2 separate regions of the Homo sapiens genome follow, and region 1 is linked to region 2. The links are contacts of gene promoters, found by promoter capture Hi-C in blood cells and fetal thymus (Javierre and others, 2016). All regions are on one chromosome and are shown on one strand. The core of a region is centred on a gene start or on the middle of the fragment in contact, and the rest is flanking DNA. Distances in the headings are between cores, read along the strand shown. Region 1 holds the start of SNORA75 (small nucleolar RNA, H/ACA box 75). Region 2 holds the start of ITM2C (integral membrane protein 2C).

Region 1 (2,500 bases), core at 1-2,500, 590 kb before region 2:
TGAAGATGCTGCGGAGATCAGATTAGTCAGCAAGGATGGGAAAAGTAAAGGGTATGTTCTGTCTATTGAAATGTAAGGGTTTTATTAACATTAATGCACTTTCCTGCTTTATAAAAGAAATATTGGTTTGATTTCCTTAGGCGTGTAATCTTGGACAGTTTAACCTGTAAGTTTGTGCCTCAGTAACCCATCTGTACCATGGGGATAATGTACTCATAGGGTGATTTTAAAAGACAAGCTAATACTTACAAAGAAGCAAGAAATGTGCCTATCTTACAATAAATACTTTGTAAGTAGTAGCAGTTCTTTCAGTGAGGTGAGGTTACTATGAAAAAATTCCAAGTATTTGTAAAACTAGTGGGAAGTAAGAGGGAAGCTCGAGTTTTGATTGAAAAGTGGCATAAAACTAAGGGCATTTATTGTACTCAGATCTGAAGCAAGTTCTGTGTTGCTGAGGTAAAAGCATTTGTGTTAATATGGTTTTAAAAACCATGAGTTCTTCTCCCTCCATTGCAGGATTGCTTATATTGAATTTAAGACAGAAGCTGATGCAGAGAAAACCTTTGAAGAAAAGCAGGGAACAGAGATCGATGGGCGATCTATTTCCCTGTACTATACTGGAGAGAAAGGTCAAAATCAAGACTATAGAGGTGGAAAGAATAGCACTTGGAGTGGTAAGAAATTAGGCTTGTTACAAGGTTTCAGAATTGGTGGAGGGAACTCCTTTGTGTCTTTGTATTTCATAAGTTTATAAATACTTTTTAATCAAAGTTACTCAAATGTAGGTGAAGATCAAGGACATGATACCCCAAGTCATACTCTTATTTGGAATAGTAATTTCCAATCTTGAATGAGAGCTCTAAAATCATTTTGCATTGGAATACAGTAGGCAAATCAAGCTTCCTTTGTAGGCATGTTTTATACTTTAAATGACTTGACCATGTGCGTTTTGAACTCAGATGATTCTAGGAAAACAGACCAGTCATCAGCCTATGTAAGAACAACCAGCAGGACATTGCAACACGTACTAGGTACTTAATATGTTGAGTAACAGAAATGGATTTAGCTTACGTCATGAGTATTTGTATATTAACTCAAGCACTGAAATTCTTAGGAATAAGATATTACTGTTGTGACCGAAGCTGGGAACCACTGTTTCAGAGTCTTAGGAATGTGGCATCTCTATTTGCAGGTGAATCAAAAACTCTGGTTTTAAGCAACCTCTCCTACAGTGCAACAGAAGAAACTCTTCAGGAAGTATTTGAGAAAGCAACTTTTATCAAAGTACCCCAGAACCAAAATGGCAAATCTAAAGGGTAAGATAATACCTTTGTATCATCAGTTATAGGCTATATATGTCTTAGAGGTCTAAAGGAACGTAAGGTCATGTGATCCTGTCAGAAAAGCCAAATAATTTTAGCTACGTAAATGAGTGTAAAATAAAGATCATCATTTAGGTACCAACTTGAGAGAAGGGGCTTGGCAGCATCATGTGACAGTGAAGGAGCATGTGCCTGGTAACTTACTCTAAGCATTAACTGTTCATCCTCAGGTATGCATTTATAGAGTTTGCTTCATTCGAAGACGCTAAAGAAGCTTTAAATTCCTGTAATAAAAGGGAAATTGAGGGCAGAGCAATCAGGCTGGAGTTGCAAGGACCCAGGGGATCACCTAATGCCAGAAGCCGTAAGTTCACCTGGTTAGGGTGCTGTGGTTGGGGGTAGCACTCTCGGTGCTTTGTTTATTTTTTGCACAAATTCTGTGTTTCCTGTTGCTACTGAGTGAACAATAACTGGATATGATGACTGATTACCTGAGAAATAATTGATGAAATCTCAAGAAAATTCCTCTAGATAGTCAAGTTCTGATCCAGCTGTGTCAACTCAGAGTAGCAAGTTTGCCCATGATTTCCTGCCCCATCCACTGGGCCCCACCTGCTTGGGTTGCTTCTCCCACTTTCCATAGAAGATCTGGGGCAGGATATCAACTATGCAATGGCAATTAAAAAATGTAAACCCAGAATAGCCTTTACTTTAATTAAGGACTAGTTGGCTTAGTTGCTTTTAACTGCTTTTTCACTATAACAAGTATTCTTGGCTAGTAGTCATACTAGGCATTGTGCAAATTCAGTGTTACGAACTGTGACTTCACATAAAGTCACATTTTTTTTTCCTTCCCAGAGCCATCCAAAACTCTGTTTGTCAAAGGCCTGTCTGAGGATACCACTGAAGAGACATTAAAGGAGTCATTTGACGGCTCCGTTCGGGCAAGGATAGTTACTGACCGGGAAACTGGGTCCTCCAAAGGGTAAGGGAAGGAAGCGTGAGTGCTGCTTCCACTTGAAGGGGTTTTTGTTCTGTGCAGACCTTGAGTCTAATGTGTCTTCTCATTGAGCTCCTTTCTGTCTATCAGTGGCAGTTTATGGATTCGCACGAGAAGAAGAGAGAATTCACAGAACTAGCATTATTTTACCTTCTGTCTTTACAGAGGTATATTTAGC
Region 2 (2,772 bases), core at 61-2,560:
TCCTGCCTCAATGCGGGGTGGGGAGGCGGGGAGGACATGGGCTTGGTAAGCCACAAGACCGCTGGGGGCGGCGCCCACGTAGACACCTTTGCCAGGCACAATAAAACCTGGCTGGGCCAGCTCTCCCTCCCTCCCTGTCCCTGCCCGCCACGCGTTCTGCCCCCTGCGGGCCCTTCCCGGACACAAGGCACGCAGCTCAGACAGTTTTCCACGGCGGAAATGCCTTCTCTCCCCCCCGGCCAGAGGGAAAGTGGAGGAAGCCGGGGTAGGGGAGGGGGATGACAGGGGTGGGGGAACGCGCACAGAGCCCGGGGACCCAGGATGCAAGGGCACTGGGGCAGTTGGGAGCCCTCCCCGTGGGGTCGGGGGACAGCCCAGCGAGAGGCTGGGAATGGAGAAAAGAGAGGGGAGCAGGGAGGCCCAGACGGCAGGGCGTGGGGTGGGAAGGGGGCACCCGGCCTCGGACCCCCGACGTCCAGAGGCCGCAGCGCCGTCGGTTCTGGCTGATTTCCATTTCATCACTTTCTGGTCTGTCAATTCCGGTGCAGGCCAGCAGCACATCCTCTGTCCCTCGCAGCCCCCAATTTCGGAGGAAATCAACGGCCCCACCCTCTTCGTTGGTACCAGACCCCCCCACCCCCAATTCCCCAGCCAATCAGGTCCCACCGCCCTACTTTGGAAAAACTACGTCTAACCCTCCTCCCATCCCCCACCTGGGGACTCGACTCGCGGCTTTCCCAGTTGATTGGAACCAGACGCGTACCCCCCCACCAACATTCCTCGAACTTCTTCGGACCAGCCCCCTCCCCCTATAAGGCGGCGAGGGGGCCCCCACTTTTGGAAGAGACCTCGAGCACTTCTCCACCTGAAGACCAGAACCAGACGCCTCCCACTCTTCGGACTTCAGCTTTTGGCTGCCGCTTTAGTACGGGACTTAAGCCCCCTCCTCATTCTGGGATAAGCAACCATTCGAGACTTCCCAACCCTGCTCCACCCCGGGCTCTGGGGCCCTGACGCGCCTCGGGCAGTCCCCAGGGCCGACGGGGCGCGCCTGGGTCGTGAGCCTGGGTCCCCCGCCCCACCGCCTGAGCCCCAGACCCTCTCACCCTAGCCGGCGTCAGCAGGATCTCGGTGGCCGAGGCCGGCGCAGGGGCCGACGCCGACGCCTTGTCAGCCTTGTCGCCCTTGATGCCAGCCACGGCGGGCTGGAAGCTAATCTTCACCATGGCTGCGCCGGCCCGCGCGTCCGCCCCGCAGCCTCTGCCGGTGCAGCCTCGGTCTCTGCCTCCGCCGCTCCGAGCTCTGCAGGCACCGGAAGTTTGGATCCCGCTCGCGTCCCTCTCTCTAACCCCACCCCCAGCCCTCCCCGCCCCGTCCCCGCGGGAGGGCCCCGGCGCCCGCCGCGCCTGCGCCCCCTTCCCGCCCGCGGGGCCCGCAGTGACCCCTGCCGGGCGCGCCGCTCCGCACCTGGGGCGGGTCGGAGTTCCTTCTGCCGCTCGCTCGCACAGTCACTCACTCGCTCGCTCACTCACTCACTCACTCACTCGCTCACTCATTCATTCAGCCGTCACGCTCGGATCCGTTCTCCGTAGCATAATCCCTTCGCATTCCCTGTCCAAGGCCAGCATCCCCGCAACGCAAGTCTTTGTTAACCCAGTGTTTGCCAGGCAAATGCAGCTTCCAGACAACTCACCCGTCTCTCCTGCCCCACTTCAGGTCTTCCCCTTTAGAAACGCTGGAGCCTCCGCTCTACCTGTCCCCACGCCCCCCTCCTCCGACCTGTCCTTGGCGCGGGGAGGAGGCTTTGAGACAGGCGCCAAACTGCTGCCTCCGTCTTGCCTTCTGAAGCCATCCACGCCTCCTTCATCCTCCATCTTGCTTCTGCCTTCATTCTTTATTCCTGCAAAACCTTCCTGGGGGGTCCTGGGGTGCACGCTGGAGCCGCCTGGAGTGGAGAAGGGAAGGCCGCCCCTGCTCCCTGGCTCCTTCGTGTTGCTGCGACCTCAGTTATTGGGTGACCTCCTGAACTGCCCTTGTCTCACTCATCCAGGAGGACCCTGGCGAGAGTGGAGGGAAGACCCCCAGGGCGGGTGTCAGAGGCTCGGGTTCCACTCAAGACTCTGCTCCTCCCAAGTATCACGGGTACTGGGGAAGCAGGGGCTTCTGTTGCTGGGATGGCTGCTCTTGGCACTAACGCCCTGAATCTTTCCTCTTTGCTCCTGGTCCAGACTGGGCCAGGGACAGCGCCCAGCAACACACACAGGTTGTGCTGAGTGGTCCGCTTTGGTTCTGCTGTTGGGCTGCCAGTGGAGGGCAGGGGAGTCCGTCCGCTTCTTGAGGACAGTCCGGGGTCCTCCACTGATCTCTCTTCTCACCTTTCAGGTCTTTTGCAGCTGCCTTGGGCCCTTAGCGCCCACGTCCCAGACCCGGACCTCTTGGCTCAGATCTTGGATGAACCTAGCAACCTTGAGGACAGACAGGTGGGGAAAGAAGAAAGTCTAACTGATGCTAAGGCCACCAGCCTGGGGAACTGGGGGGAGGGAATGGGGAGGTGGAAGAAGACAGATGGTTTGGAGGAGACGAGGAGGAATCTGGTTTGGCACAGAGCCAGAGAGGAAGGTGTTATGGACTACCGCTCATCACCTGCTCCAGATCCCATGGGAAACCTGGTGTCTGGAGAAGGCAAGCTCCACGTCTTGCTTAGGCCACACCCCCAACATGCATTCCTTCACTCAGTGTTTTCCAAGCACCCCTGTGTGCCAAGCATTGTGT

Evidence for each region. The method cuts DNA at HindIII sites, captures the fragments that hold promoters and counts their contacts. A CHiCAGO score of 5 or more calls a contact.
Region 1: a fragment that was not itself captured here is called in contact with the fragment with the promoter of ITM2C in region 2 in 1 of 17 cell types (fetal thymus); the score reaches 7.1 in fetal thymus.

Annotation. Positions count from the first base shown.
Region 1 is chr2:231,455,817-231,458,316 of GRCh38, reverse strand. NCL (nucleolin) reads left to right here. Exons shown (of 14, transcript NM_005381.3): 8 at 1-51; 9 at 517-674; 10 at 1,193-1,316; 11 at 1,553-1,686; 12 at 2,181-2,307. It overlaps SNORA75 (small nucleolar RNA, H/ACA box 75), which reads left to right and starts at 2,381; the gene lies at 2,381-2,500. SNORD20 (small nucleolar RNA, C/D box 20) reads left to right here and starts at 1,794; the gene lies at 1,794-1,873. The HindIII fragment of the contact is 697 bases long and covers 902-1,598 here.
Region 2 is chr2:230,863,480-230,866,251 of GRCh38, reverse strand. It overlaps ITM2C (integral membrane protein 2C), which reads right to left and starts at 1,310. Exons shown (of 6, transcript NM_030926.6): 1 at 1,107-1,310. The coding sequence starts at 1,226. RefSeq lists silencers at 111-210, 1,001-1,090, 1,191-1,560 and enhancers at 1-650, 651-1,309, 1,968-2,626. The HindIII fragment of the contact is 7,451 bases long and covers 1-2,772 here.